Regions from separate parts of the Homo sapiens genome. Here region 1 is linked to region 2. The links are contacts of gene promoters, found by promoter capture Hi-C in blood cells and fetal thymus (Javierre and others, 2016). All regions are on one chromosome and are shown on one strand. The core of a region is centred on a gene start or on the middle of the fragment in contact, and the rest is flanking DNA. Distances in the headings are between cores, read along the strand shown. Region 1 overlaps TMEM14A (transmembrane protein 14A). Region 2 holds the start of PAQR8 (progestin and adipoQ receptor family member 8).

What was found. Contacts are between HindIII fragments. The CHiCAGO score rates a contact against its expected background, and 5 or more counts as called.
Region 1: a fragment that was not itself captured here is called in contact with the fragment with the promoter of PAQR8 in region 2 in 3 of 17 cell types (M0 macrophages, monocytes and M2 macrophages); the score reaches 6.9 in M0 macrophages.

What each region holds. Positions count from the first base shown.
Region 1 is chr6:52,681,229-52,688,806 of GRCh38, forward strand. TMEM14A (transmembrane protein 14A) reads left to right here. Exons shown (of 5, transcript NM_014051.4): 3 at 585-686; 4 at 2,850-2,937; 5 at 4,782-5,360. The coding sequence ends at 4,821. It also overlaps the pseudogene GSTA8P and the pseudogene SREK1IP1P2. Among named protein-coding and RNA genes, the nearest start is that of TMEM14A, 14 kb to the left of the region's middle. The HindIII fragment of the contact is 2,362 bases long and covers 2,767-5,128 here.
Region 2 is chr6:52,360,150-52,367,446 of GRCh38, forward strand. PAQR8 (progestin and adipoQ receptor family member 8) reads left to right here and starts at 2,002. Exons shown (of 2, transcript NM_133367.5): 1 at 2,002-2,100. RefSeq lists silencers at 1,406-1,591, 1,765-2,254. The HindIII fragment of the contact is 8,624 bases long and covers 1-5,199 here.

The sequences.
Region 1 (7,578 bases), core at 2,698-5,197, 320 kb after region 2:
GGATAGGGACTGGGTAGCTGGGGTCAGTATTCTGATTCTTCGTCTTTCTTGGTAGGGCCTCTATTAGTCCTTGAGTCCTGACATCTTGAGGCATGAAGGTTTGTTAATTATTCAGGATGGAACCATTGCTTGGTTTGTATAGCACTTCTGTCTTTACCTCTATAAACTAAAACTACCTTTGCATCTTAGTTTTTATCATCACAACCTCATTGCAAAAAGGAGGCAAAGAGAATAGGAAAAATTAAAAAAGAAGGGCTTAAGGAAGTTAAATAATTGTCCAAGATCATGTAATCAGTGTCCAAGCCACCAGAACAAGGCAGGTTTTCTTATTTCCCCAAGTGACATCTAACCCCACTGCACTGCTGTGCCCTCAGGGCTCCTCTGCCTTGCATTTGGGTTCAGCAGGAAACAGTCATCTCCTAGAAAGTATCCATGAAGAGGCCTATTCTTAATTTGGCTTTGTCCAGTTACTGTGCCCAAGTAGGAATACATTTGAAGGTGCCTGTATCATACTAGAAGTAATGGAATGAATTCCTTTCCTTTTGGGATTCTCTTTGTGATCTCATATTTTTTTCCCCTTCCAGGTGGTGTTCCGTCTTTGATTGCTGGTCTTTTTGTTGGATGTTTGGCCGGCTATGGAGCTTACCGTGTCTCCAATGACAAACGAGATGTAAAAGTGTCACTGTGTAAGTAAGGCATTTTTCCTGGTTACAGAGACTCAAACATTGGAGGTGATCTTTTTGATACCCTATGCTAGATATACTAGAACATATTTAGTCAAATGGCAAATGGCCATATGCATGTGTTGAGGCTGAATACAACACTTATTCCTTTCTAGAAAGACCTGATAAAAAATGATGGTACTGCTACCAGGCCTTCCAACTCAGAAGAATATTTCTATAAAAACTCGTTACTAGAAAAATTGAATTAGGAAAAGCAAGGAATTATTTTCAGATTTTCTGCTAACTCTCCTAAATGCATATTTAGCATAGTTTTTACATTGCTGTGGAAATAACTAAAAAAGAGACAGCCTTGCATTATTTCATTTAATTCACAAACATCTTTTAGATTCTGCACTGCCTTAAGACTTAACCTAAAAAAGCAAGGCTGACGCTTTTTTAGCTACTTCCCTTGTTAAGTTTAATGGGAGAATATCCACAGAAAAAATGGAAACCTGTGTGTTTAAAGTCACCAGGACACTTGACTTTCATCTCACTTGAAAGAGATACACAGTGAAGATTTAGAAAACCATACCAAGGACATTTTCTCTAGTTGATTTATTATTCAAAGTGCCTTGGTCGTGTATGGAAAAAAATATAAATGAAGACAAAATTGTTCTATATTTGAAGGAGAGTGAGAGATTTGGGGTTTTTTTTTTTTTTTAGTTATTTTTATAAGGGGCTAGGGATATTTTTAGTAATGAGGTTGTGTTAGATGTATCAGCCAGATGTAGTGATATTAGGATTTTTATTGATATGCATTTAAATAGTTCACAAGTATTTATTGTCAGTCATTTTATTTTTTATATCAATAAACAGTTTTTCTTTGAAAGCTGTTTTTAAATTGTGGCATTGATGTCCTAATCTCTTACATAAAACTACCTCTCCCTTCATAGATACAGCTCCAAAAAGGCTGACATGATGCTTCTGAATAAAATACTATTGCTTAGACTATTATTTAGTCTCCAGGCATCAAATTCTCCAAAATGGGATGCTACAAAACAAAACCAATCAGCCTTCTTTTTAGTATTTTTTTTTTATTAATCAGATCTTACTTGTAAAAGATACATTAACTATTTTCTTTATATTCAGTTAACTGAACATTAATGAGTGTCTCCTGTGGGTCCAAGTGTGCTACTTAGTGTTTCTGAGGGAAGTTGAATAAAGCTCAGTGCTAGCCTTCAAGGCGTGTTCTTTGAATAGAAATTTAGGTTAGAAAAAGACTTTCTTAGCTAGGCATGGTGGCTCATGCCTGTAATCTCAGCACTTTTGGAGGCTGAGGCCGGTGGATCACTTGAGGCCAGGAGTTCAAGACCAGCCTGGCCAACATAGCAAGACCCTGTCTCTACTAAAAGTACAAAAATTAGCTGGATGTGGTTGTACATGGCTGTAATCTCAGCTACTCGGGAGGCTGAGGCAGGAGAATTGCTTGAACCCGGGAGGTGGAGGTTGCAGTGAGCTGAGATCACGCCACTGTACTCCAGCCTGGGTGACAGAGCAAGACTCTGTCTCAACAACAACAACAACAACAACAACAAAAAAAAAAAAAAGAAAAAGAAAAGGTCTTTCTCTTTTGAAGATATTTCAGGAATGGATTTTAACATGTTTGTTTACCCAGAAACCTTTTCGGCGAGGTAGATGATGATGAAGTGTTTCTTTGTTTGTTCTTTTGTTGTTTTTTTGAGACAGAGTTCGCTCTTGTTGCTCAGTCTGGAGTGCAGTGGCGTGATCTCAGTTCACCACAACCTCTGCCTCCCCGGTTCAAGCAATTCTCCTGCCTCAGCCTCCCGAGTAGCTGGGATTACAGGCATGTGCCACCATGCCCTGCTAATTTTTTTTGTATTTTTAGTAGAGACGAGGTTTCTCCATGTTGGTCAGACTGGCCTCAAACTCCCAACATCAGGTGATCCACCCATCTCTGCCTCCCAAAGTGCTGGGATTATAGGCGTAAGCCACTGGCCCGGCCATGAAGTGTTTTAATAGAGCACTTTATCTTTTCAAGACAATGGCAACTCAGTACCTATCCATAATAGTTGTAATGTTAGAAAGCTTTAAATGGTACCCGCTGTTTTCCCACAAGCATTGATAACATGTTTGAAACTCTGGTTCATGAATTAGTTTGGTTTTCAGTTACAGCTTTCTTCCTGGCTACCATAATGGGTGTGAGATTTAAGAGGTCCAAGAAAATAATGCCTGCTGGTTTGGTTGCAGGTTTAAGGTAAGTAAAACTATTTTGATCAATACTTTCCTCTGCTGTTGTTTTGAAGTGCTGAATTTTTGGGAAACATCAATTTTAATTTGAAAGATCAAAGTCCTTTTTGTTATAATAAGCATGACAGTAAAAACCTTAAGATAGCATGGATTCAGTGGGTCTTTGATATTGATGTACCCATGAACATTCTTATTGGATACGCATAGTGTTGCTGTAGTATCTGGTCACATAGGCATACTTGCCTTTTTCAGAAGAAAGAGCTAACTAAACTCAGCCTCATTTTTCCTCAAGATTCACCCATCTGCAACACTAAATGTGTTCATTTAAATCTAATACTCAGTCCCTTTTAGAGAGTTTGACAGAGTGACAGTGTGATACAGTTATTTCAAGTTTTTAAGGGACAGAAATTTAATATTTTTAAGAGTTTTTAAGAGAGAAGTTTTAATATTTTTTAAAAGATAAACAGAGGGCCTCAAGTTTCTCTTAATTTGATCCAGTAATTCTATCCATGAGATTAAGCATATTACCAAATAAAAATTTAGAGATAACATTTTAAAAATTTCTCCAGAAAGCTGGCTTTATATGTTGAAAGCCATAAACATGTTTATTTCCTTTGATAGACATTTTCACTTTTTGGAATTTATTCCAAAGCAGTGAGATATGCACAAAGACTGATGTTCATTGCAACTTTATTTCTAGTGAAAACACAATAGACTGAAAAATTAGGAACAACCTAACAGTTCACCAGTAAGGAGATGTTTGAAAAAATGTTTTGTCCATTTAATGGAATATTGAATGAGCATTACATTTTTATGTTTTCAAAAATGATTTGGTGGCATTGGAAAATCTTAGTGACATAATAAGGTATAAAAACAGGATGAAAACAACCACATATAGTGTGATTAAAAAAAGTTTGTGTATAAAAAAACAGGAAGGAAATATTTCAAGCTGTTAGTGTTTTTCTGTGGGTGATAGTGTGATGAATAATTGTAATGTTCCTCTTTCTACTTTTGTGTAGAATTTTCTAGTGTGACTATGTATTATGTTTCAGGGAGGGGAGGAGGAGTGTGATTACAAAAGACAGCTTTCCAGTTATAGCCCTGTTCTAAAAGTGATACTTGGTGGTGGGAAGAATCAGAAGTAGGGTTTATGGGCTGGGTGCGGTGGCTCATGCCTGTAATCCCAGCACTTTGGAAGGCTTTGGCGGGTGGATCACTTGAGGTCAGGAGTTCAAGACCAGCCTAGCCAACATGGCAAAACCCCATCTCTACAAAAATTAGCCAAGTGTGGTGGCGGGCACCTGTAATCCCAGCTACTTGGGAGGCTGAGGCAGGAGAATTGCTTGAGCTCAGGAGGTGGAGGTTGCAGTGAGCCGAGACTGCGTCACTATACTCCAGCCTGGGTGACAGAGTGAGACTCCATCAGAAAAAAGAAAAAAAAAAGGAAGAAAAAATGAAGTAGGGTTTATGGATCCGGAAGAAGGCCTCAGTTAATAGAAAGTAGCTGAGATTGAATTAGTAACTGCCCCAAGTTGGTCCTCGATTATTTTTTCAAGTTGCTTTATTTTACTAGCTTCTGAAAGTTTGTTTCTTCCCAAACCTTTCTCTTATAAACCCTCATCCAAGGTTTTCAGAACAACAGGTTCTGATTTTTCCTTATTCATTTAGCGAACATTTTAAAGTGGCTAATTCAGTTATGTCTGGGATGTTTTAATCCTCCAAGGGGTTGAGCTGGGAGAGCCCCCAAGCCAAGGATTAGTAACACTACTGGGTAGGCGAGTGCATGGCCCTTTCTGTCTTATGCCAGATAAAAGTGACTCTCCCTTTGTCTTTGTTTTATTTTAAATCCAGCCTCATGATGATCCTGAGACTTGTCTTGTTGCTGCTCTGAGCATCTGGAGGAACAGAAAACTAAGTTCATGTCATCCTGCTGTAATGGGCAGAGCATATTTTTTTTGTATTTAAAAGATAAACTTCAATATGGAATGCTAGAAACACAAATAGCACTGTCACCTCTAATATGAACATTAGTTTGAGGTAGTTTTTTTCTAAAGCAAAAATTTTAACTGTTTTCTAATTGTCAAGCACTATTTTCATTAAAAGTGTCTAATGAATCATGATATACTCTTCCATTTGTTGTGTCTATTTTTTATATATTTGGTATTTTTTGAAAATTCCAAATACTCATGTCTCAAGTAAGCTTAAACTACAACTTGTCACATAAAGGAAGTCTTAAGTGGAGTTCACAGAATGATAATGTATCTATTTGTCATTTGTGTTATATTTGAAATTATTAGAAATTATGCTTTTTCCATTTTAATTGTATTGCTGCCAGTGCTATTTTTTTCTTTAAAAAATTTTATTCTTAGCACACTGTTATGTCCTAACTGAATGTATTCAGTATTCAAATAAAAGACATTTTGGTTCAAACCTGTTTCTTTCATGTCAGTTTTTCCTCTGAATACTCAAATCATCTTTGACATTTAAATATTCAATTATTAACGAAAAGGGTTGAGAAGGAGGGTTTATTTAAGCCAACATTCTACTTCCTGAGGCGTAGATATTTTTTCTCTCTGAAAGAGTAACGATTCTGAAACAAACTGATTTTGTTTCAAATTACCACTTTATTTTTAGGCATAGTTATAACTTTTAATGTCCAAGGCACTTTTAGGGCCCAAATTGAACATCGGGAGACCTGAATCCCAGCCCAATTCTTCCACCCACTTGATGCTCTTTGGAAGGTCATTTCCTTTTCCTCTGACTCAGTTTCTCATTCTTAAGGAGGAATTGAACTAAATGATCAACCCTTTAGAGCTCTAAAAATCTACAGTTCCTATCCTGTTGGTTATGTGCAGTGGTGTCATACTTCAAACCCTTTCTTTAAGTGAAAGCGTAGGGTCCTCAACTGATAACGGCAGAGTTCATATGGTTCTGTTAGATTGGTTACCTTTCCCAACTGACTTTCAAGGAGGTTGTTAAACTTTCAGTGATAAGTAATTCAATTAAGGGAAGAAAAAAGCTGTACCAGTTGAACCGAATAGGAAATCTAGATAAAATTATTTGATGTACTTAAAAAAATCCCAATTTAAAGAAGAAGAAAGAAAATCCCATAAATCCTAATGGTGGCAAAGAGGTTGTTACCACAGGCAAGGCTGGAAAAAGCCGTCATCATTGAGGTGCTCTGCTCACTTGCTAGCTGTCAGAGATGACTGAGGAGAACCTTCAGATTCAGACTGACAGCAGCTTATAGTCAAAACTGATTACGATACTGAAGTAGAAACTAACTGTGAAATTGATCCTAGAAATACATGCTGTGTCTGCAGAATACTCTAGTGATTCAAAGTTTAAGAAACTGGTTTGAAGCTATGCTGTTCCCTGGACTTTTCCCAAAAGGTCATAGAAGTGAATGATAGTGATGTGTGTGCTTTTTTTGTTTTGTTTTTAAAGAAATCTTTGGCATCCATTTGCATATTTGTGATTTTACTCTTTTGCAATACGTAGAATCCAGAAGGATTCATATTTGGATGGCTCTGATTAATTGGTGTTTTCTTGTTTTATGAAAAGTAGAAGAGGCTCTGTAACTTACAGGTATTAGGCAGTTTATTTCCTCATGTCTTATTACTTTATTACATTAATGTGGCTTTATGATATTTTTATGGGTCTGCTACCAATGCATAGTGAAATATTTACTACGTTTCTTAGACTTTGTTTCATTTGTTAATACTCAGCTACTGTAGTGCTCATGTTTTTAAGAAACAGGCCATGTTCAAATTTAAATATATTCTTCACAGTCTCAATGGATTCTTCATCCAGTGGAGGCTTCCTTTGGCTTCCAGGTTGGAGAAATTTATTAATTGTGGGGATGTGGCTGATTCTGGCCTTGAATTTCTAAAATGCAAAAGAATACTATCCAAGAGAGAAGAATATAACAAAACAAAGTAAAATGCAAATGAGCCACATTCTGGTGGAGGTGGGGGATAATTGGGATTTTCATACATTGTGGACATTGCAAAGTGATACTGCCACTTTGCAAGTTAGCAATATTTCTCAAGAACCACAAAAACGTTCATAGGCTGTTACGAAGTGATTCCATTTTAAAAATTGTGTCCTAATGATGTAATCTTAAATGTGGAAAAATCTATACCTACAAAGATATTGTTGCAACACTATTTATAAAAACAAACATTCTAAAGCATCCTGGTATACAATAAAGAGAAGTCCTCATTTTTCTTATACCAGAAGCATTTTTCATGTTATGTAATCTTTGAAAACTTTAAGTGGCTGCATAGAATTCTATCCAATGAACATATCCTCATTTATATAGATGTTTCTCAGTTTAATATTAGACATTTAAGTTGTTTATGATTTTCACTATTTAAAATCAGGTTAGGCTGTGGCATGGGTGAAAGTGGCCACTTTGGCGGTGCCTCGTCCTCACAGCTAATGGGAAGCAAGCGTGTTCTAGAAAGCCAGAGTCTCCAGCGACCCCTCTTACCACCATCATGGCAGTCCCAGGTTGCAACAAGGACAGTGTCAGAGCAGGCTGTAAAAAATATGGCTTCCTGGTCACCTGACTTTTGAATGCTGCAACTTTCTCCAAGTAGACCCCAAAGGGACATAGTTTTGGATGTCAGCAGTGCAAACAGTG
Region 2 (7,297 bases), core at 752-3,251:
GAAGCTAGCTTGAGACCAAGGTAGTTTTAAAAGGCATGAAGGATGAGAACCACCATTCTTATTTAGTGGCTCTGGACAGCGTCACTTGGAAACAGAACTGCCTCATGCACAGATAACAATGCCTGACACCCATTACACTTTACATGCACGTTCACATCTGCCTTTTGGATAAAGGGCAAGAAGAAAGGAACATTTACCATTGAGAAAGAATTAGAAGCCTTGTTAGTCTCCTTTTAAGACTTCTTCACATTCCACATGGATTAACTGTTAGGGAGAAAAACACTGCAAAAATAATCAGCAATGCATTTCGGAGGCTCATCAGCTCCCGGCTGACAGCTCACGTTAGTTGGATGAAGGCTGTGGATAGGCTTTTAGATGTGCTAACCTGTAATTTTGTTTCTAGAGTGGCCCAAAGTGGAAGGAGTTTTCACTCCCTCTCAATAAGCCCTCTTGTACGGTTGTGACCTCTGGCCTATCATAGGTTTTTGACGATAAAGGAGAGCCCGGGTTTTTGAGGTTAAGGGAGAGTTCCCTGACATCTTTGGGGTGAAGAAGAGATGGAGGGAGCAAAGCTGCCAAAGACCTCCTGTGACATTTCCACTAGTATCCACCTATAAGTAAGTGCTGGACTATGATTCCCTGGGGAGATCAGTGGCTCTAAAGACAGGCCCCTGGGCTCTTTCCTGGCTCTGACTCAGCTTCAAACCTGCCGTGCAACTGCTCAGAGTCTAAATGTCTTCATTTATGGAACTGAAATAATCCTGCTAAGATTACTTTCTTTGCTTCGTGATGTTTGCCTGAGAATAAGTAGCTGGGACTACAGGCGTGTGCCACCACGCCCATCTAATTTTTGTATTTTTTGCAGAGACAGGGTCTCACCTTGTTACCCAGGCTGGTCTCGAACTCCTGGGCTTAAGCAATCTGCCCACTTTGGCTTCCCAAAGTTCTGGGATTACAGGTGTGAACCATCACACTCGGCTAAAATGTTTTGAAAAATGGAAACATTGTACAAATGTGAGATGTTGTGCAACATGTCACTGAAACACGGTGGTATAAGAGAAGTTTTGGGAACCAGCAGACCAGAATTAGGCCTGAGAAAATCTTACAGTAAGCAGACCAGAATTAGGCCGTCTGAGAAAATCTTACAGTAAGCAGACCAGAATTAGGCCTGTCTGACAAAATCTTACAGTAAGCAGGCCATCTTCCCAGGCCTTCTCTTTTCTCCAGATAATGAAGAAGGCTTTTTAAAAGCAAAGCCAACTTGATTTGTTAATTGATCATCCAACTTCTTAACTGTCTTTTTCTCATGGTAAAATACCGAGAACATTGTGGGTGAGGAGCAAGTCGGGAGGTGGAACCCACCCCCGCACCCTGCCTCCAATAGATTGTATGTGTGGGTCGCTATTGCTGGGACCCACGAAGGCTGTGGATTGAGGACACAGGGTAGAAGTGGGATCTTCTGCAGGTCAGTGTCAGATGTGTCTGTGTGATGTAGTCATGGGAGAGGCGCGAGTCTTGGGCGGGTGTATCTTAGGGGTGTGGAAGTGTCTGCAAGGGCCTCCGTGGTATGTCATCACATTATTTATATCATGGGCATGACCCTGAACGTTCACCCGAGAGTGGTGAGAGAAAGGCCAGGATTTAAATCAGTCTTGACAGCGCAGATGAAGTTTGTTATTGTTTTCCGCCCTTCCCGAGGGACTTCGGAAATGGCCCCCTGAGAGGTGAATTCTTGGAAAGAATATGAGGGCGGTTAAGGCGTCTCTGTCTCAAACTCTCCGGATTTTTTGCAGCTACCAGGGACTGCGAGGGTCTGCGTCCTGGGTGGAAGGAAGCGGCGTCAGTCAACTTCCTCGCAGCGGCGGCAGCGGCGCGGGCTGCAGCGGAGCGCGCGGGTCTGCGCATCCCGCCCCCGGGTCGGGAAGGGGCGGAGCTGGGCGTCACCCGCCCCCGGCGGTCTCCTCCTCCCGGCCGCTCCCCCGAGCCGAGCCCGCCGCGGTCACAGCCACCCGCGGGAAGCTCGTGGCCGGGACCCCGAGGCGGGAGCGCGGGCTGGGCCGGGCTGGGCTACGCGCACGGGCTCGGCCGCCGCCCCTGCCGGTGAGTCCCGCCGCGGGAGGCGCGGAACGGGTCGAGTTGGGTATTGGGACCGCGAGGTCGGGGAGCCCCGGGGCCCGAGCTCGGGAGGCGGGGACGTCAGGATCGCGGCGTTGGGGAGTCCTCGCACCCCGAGCTCAGAGGGGAGGTCCAGAGTCGCAGCGTTGGGAACCTGAGGCCAGGGGCCGGAGTTTAGGGCCCCGATGTTGAGTCTCCGAATCCAAGCCCGGAAGGGGGGACGACGGGTTAGGATGCTGGGGAGCCCTGGAGCTCTGAACGGCTGTAGTGGGGTGGCCAGGACTGCGATGCTGGGGAGTCATGGAGCCTGAGCCTGGAGAGCTGGCGGGGGTGTGGGGACCGCGATGTTGGGAAGGCTGAGCCCGGAGGGCGGGAGATTCAGGACCAAGACGTGGGGGAGTCCGACAGGGCAGAACGAGGGGCGTCCTGTCCGCATTTGTGGGGCGCCCTCCGCAGGGCGGAGGGGAACGGAACCTGGGAGGGGAGTGCGGAGGAGAGGAAGCCCGGGGCGGTAGGGAGAGCCCGAGGAAGGGCAGCCCGAGGTAGGGGAACCCCGGAAAGAGTAGGGTGGGTCTAGGCATGTGCTTTCGCCGGGGAAAGATGGAGGGGGCTTCTCTGAGAGGGTGGGCGCGAGGAGCGGAGTTGTGATGGGAACCGCCGGCAGCTGGCTAATGGGCGGATGCTGGGGCTTGGCTGGATGGGAACGCCGCGGTGGGGTGTCGGAGGTGGCTGGTGGGGCTGGAACGCTGGGAACGTCTGTCTAGGCTATGAGAACGCAGCGCCCTCGGTGGAACAGGGTCGTAGATAACTCGAGAGGGAATCTAGTCTAGGGAGCAAGACCGGGCATCCCCAGACGGAGGCGGGTGGGGACCTCGCACTCAGCGCGCTTGGGGAATATTCGGAGCCTGGGTTTGGGGGCTGCTGCACCTTGCCGACCCGGTGCGGGGACCTGGAGGTAGCCGGGCACAGCAGCTTCCTGTGCAGCTGTGGGTGCTCCAGGCACTGGCAGACTAGTGGGAAGTCCAGGAGCCTTGGCAGGCTCATTGTCTTGACCTAAGTTGCATTCCATATTTCTTAGCTGGGTTAGAAATGATTTTGTCCAGGAACCCAATGAGAAGAGCCTGGGCTAAAAAAATTAGTTATGGAGTGAGATTTCAAATGTACAGGTAATACCTACCCGTGTGTGTGCGCGCCTTAGGGATAACTCATACAATACACTGTATGTGTGATTTTTAGACCCACGTGTGTACTACTTGTTCCAGTACTCTGAGAAGCTGTTTCTGGGTAAAAACGAGGAAAATCCACAACAAATACACACACCAAACAATGTCCACAAACGCACTGCATTCCAGTCGAGTTAAACATGAGAGTATTGTACAGTTTGGGAGTATTTGCTTGTCAGTGAAGACTCCTGTTACTGAAGTTAATAGGAGTTGCCTGCATGGAAGGTAGACTGCCCTTGACTGCCCTGTTAAGGTTATCCACAACGTGTACCCAGCCCTGAGCTGCTGCACCCTTGACCAGGTCAACTGGAAGGGAGCCAGACTGCTTAGGACCTCAGTGGATGAGTATCCAAGTGTGTATCTAAAAACAAAGGACCAAGGCATGGCTTTGTTTTTGTTTTTGTTTTTTATTTCTGCTGTTTGTCCTTGGGTGCGTGTCCTTCAATTATTAGTTAAATGTTGACTATCTTACATTAACCCATCTTGTATTGTTAATTATGTATGGTAATTATTTCAGTTATTTGGCGTAACAACCAATTCTGGAAGACCCAGAGTAGAGGAATCTTATTAAGTGGATATATCCATTGAAAGATATGTTTTTTTTTTTTTTTTTTTTGCGGGTGTGTGTATGCACCAGATTTCCTTCTGGTGCATATAGGTCCATCTTCTGACACACACTGAGATTTGAGCTTCATTGGATAAACAAGGATTATTTTGGCAACTAGCATTTGTTGGGTCTGTTTTTAATTCATGAAAAGGAAATCTTTAATAATTATGCAAGTTAACAGGATAGAAAGCGATTTATTCATTTTACAAGAATCATTTCAGGATAAGCATATTTCCATTAAGGGTGTGTGTATACCTTATTGAGTGGTCAGGACCTTGCATCAAAATCTGCACTATCATTCCTGCAGCAGTGTACTTATTCACTTGGACGTAACACTTGCTGATGCTTCCAATTCTTTATCCAAATGTTAAAATAAATATGCCAGTATTTATACATTCAAATCAGTATTTCTCCCCTTCAAAAGCCTGCTCTTGGCAAGCTGTGTACTAATTCTAGTGATGCTGTCACTACTGAGAATAATTTTGGAGCTCCTGCTTTGGAGTTGCCTTCCGAGTTTGCAACACATTTCCTGATTGCCTCAGTGGTGGCAAACCTTCCTCAGCTGGGAAACAGCCAGGCACTGTGCGGGGCCAACTTGGGCTTCCGAGGTGGGGAATCGAGGTTGTCAATAAGTATGCTCATTAAAGTAATGAAAATTCTCTTGAAAGACTGGCAGTTCTAAAAGGGGCATTTAGTAATGGCATGGAGTATGTATTTAGGATTGGAAGGAATTACAGTTGGTCCCTGAATAACACCGGGGTTAGGGGCTCCCATCATCTCCACAGTGGAAATTTTGAGTACAACATTTAACTCCTCAAAAACTTAACTACTTTGAAGCACAACCTTCATTTTGGTGTTTATGCTCTGGTATGTATGTAAAGTAATTGGTCCTGTCACTTTATTGTTATAGCTTATGGCTTATTGGGCTAGAAAAAGTAAGCCTTTCTTTGCCCCTCCTGATACTTGTTACTAGGCAGTCTCTGTCATTGTGGATTTTTACAGAAAGCAAAACAAAAATACAAAAGACTTGTTGTCTCACCAAAAAAAAAAAGGTACCCAGAAAGCCATTTGCCCCAGCTGTAGGTAATGCCTGGTGCTTGATTTTTGATGTGAAAGGATCCACAGAAGTAAAGGGAAGAGAATGATTTCTGAACATTCATTTCAACTTTGGGATTTCATGGCACACAGTAAAAAATGTACTGAACATATCCCTTTTTAAAATTCGCATTTTTTTTTTCAGGTTGTGTTGCATAAAGCTTCATACAGCCACAGCTTGAATCTTGATCTAGCTGTGGTTTGGGGCAAGTTGTTTCATCTCTTTTGGCCTCAGTTTTCTTAAAATGAAGATATTAATGAGTATGTACCTCATGGGGCTGTGATGAAGATGAAATAACATTGATGCGTGTAGAACACTTGAGTTCGGTGCCGGACACATCATGAGTGCTCAACAGAGTCTACTTATTCTTGTTAGGAATATTATTTATTGATAGTCTTATGTTAAAATTCCTTTGAAGCCATGTGGAAATTTATCATTTCCCAGGTAATGATATTCCCTTCAGTTAGGTTTTGCAACTAACTACAAATAGAACATTTTGGTTTTTGCCCTCCTGGTCTTTTAAGAGTTTTTAAAGGGTAACCTGAAAAGCAACGACAATTAGTTATTTTTTATTTATTCAGAAACGAGGAAATACAGACTCCAAATAAGTGGAGTCAGTGCTCCCAGTTACTTTCTTTTGAATTCAGATTTTTTTTTTAAATGAGCATTCCTGTTATGATTGTATATTATGTATAACAGTTTGGTGTGGTAAGGCAAATCTGAAAGAAAAAAGTTTAAAAGCCTCTTCTCTAATTTTTTTCCCTTCATCCAATGAAAATATTATTCTAACGAAACAGCTACAGTTCTCTTGGCACGTATTGAAAGAGACGATTCTGGTAAACATTCCCTTCATTCCAAATGTGAGTTTTGCTCTGCTGTGTTTTTTAAACAATAGGGAAGAATAGCCTGGCACTGAAATCTCAGCTCTTCTGTAAATGTCAACACTAGTTTTTTTTCAAGTTTATAAATTTTATTTTATATATATATGTACATATATTAGAAAGATGGGAAAGTTTCATCTTAATTTTAATCAGATGATTAGGGGCTGCTATGAAATAGTTAATGTTTCATGAAATGTTGACCATTTAGTGAGAATTCTCTGTTCTAGGCAAGCAAGTGCTGGAGATGGAGAGGCTTGAGACACAGGCTTTGCCCTTCAGAAGTTCATTCACATCATGTGCTCTCTTACAATGATGCAGGAACAAAAGCTTCTTCTCCTAATGGCCTGTGGAGCTAAGAATTCATATGGATTTTACTACATGATATTTTCCTTCAATTTCTCAAAGAAGGGTAAATAGGTGGATCTCTCAATAGTGTTCATATTTTTGAGGTGGATTAACTCTTTCAAAATTAGATCCCAATATGTACTCAGAGGCCATAAAAGGAGAAAATAGCTATAATTAGTGAATTACAAAGTATATCTGCAGGATGGGGTGGTATTATTGCTATACGAAACTTTCCTGGAATGTTGTGTTTGGTTTTTGCTCTGTCTTCTGAGTAGCGGTTTATGTACTTGTAAAGGACCAGGAAACAATATACATTGTGGCTTAGACTGGAGCCATGATTCTTTTTTTTTTGAGATGAAGTCTCCCTCTGTCACCCAGGCTGGAGTGCAATGGCGCAATCTCGGCTCACTGCAACCTCCATCTCCTGGGTTCAAGCAATTATCCTGCCTCAGCCTCCTGAGTAGCTGGGATTGCAGGCGCGCACCACCACACCCAGCTAATTTTTGTATTTTTGTAATTTTTGACCACCATGTTGGTCAGGCTGGTCTCGAACTCCTGACCTCGTGATCTGCCCATCTTGGCCTCCCAAAGTGCTGGGATTACAGGCGTAAACCACTGTGCCCAGCCTGGAGCTGTGATTCTTAATGGGGAGAAGTGGGTGGTGAATTTGCCCCTTTCCCCCAGAGGATGAAATTTGGTGGTGTCTGGAGACATTTTTGATTGTCATACCTGGAGGGGGAGGGATGTTACTGGCATCTAATGAGTGGAGTCCAGAGATGCTGCTAACCATCCTAAAATGCACAGGACAGCCCCGCACAACAAACAGTTATCTGGTTCAAAACATCAGTAGTGCTGAGAAGCCCTTGGCTAGAGCGTGGGATTTGGAGTAAAAATAAACCTGCATTAGCACCCTGACACCACCATTTCTTAACTGTGCCACCCTGGGTGTGTTACTTAATCTGAGTATCCATAGGATGCATATCTGAAGAGATGTGAGTTAGAGTGTGTATGAAATGCTTAACACACAGAA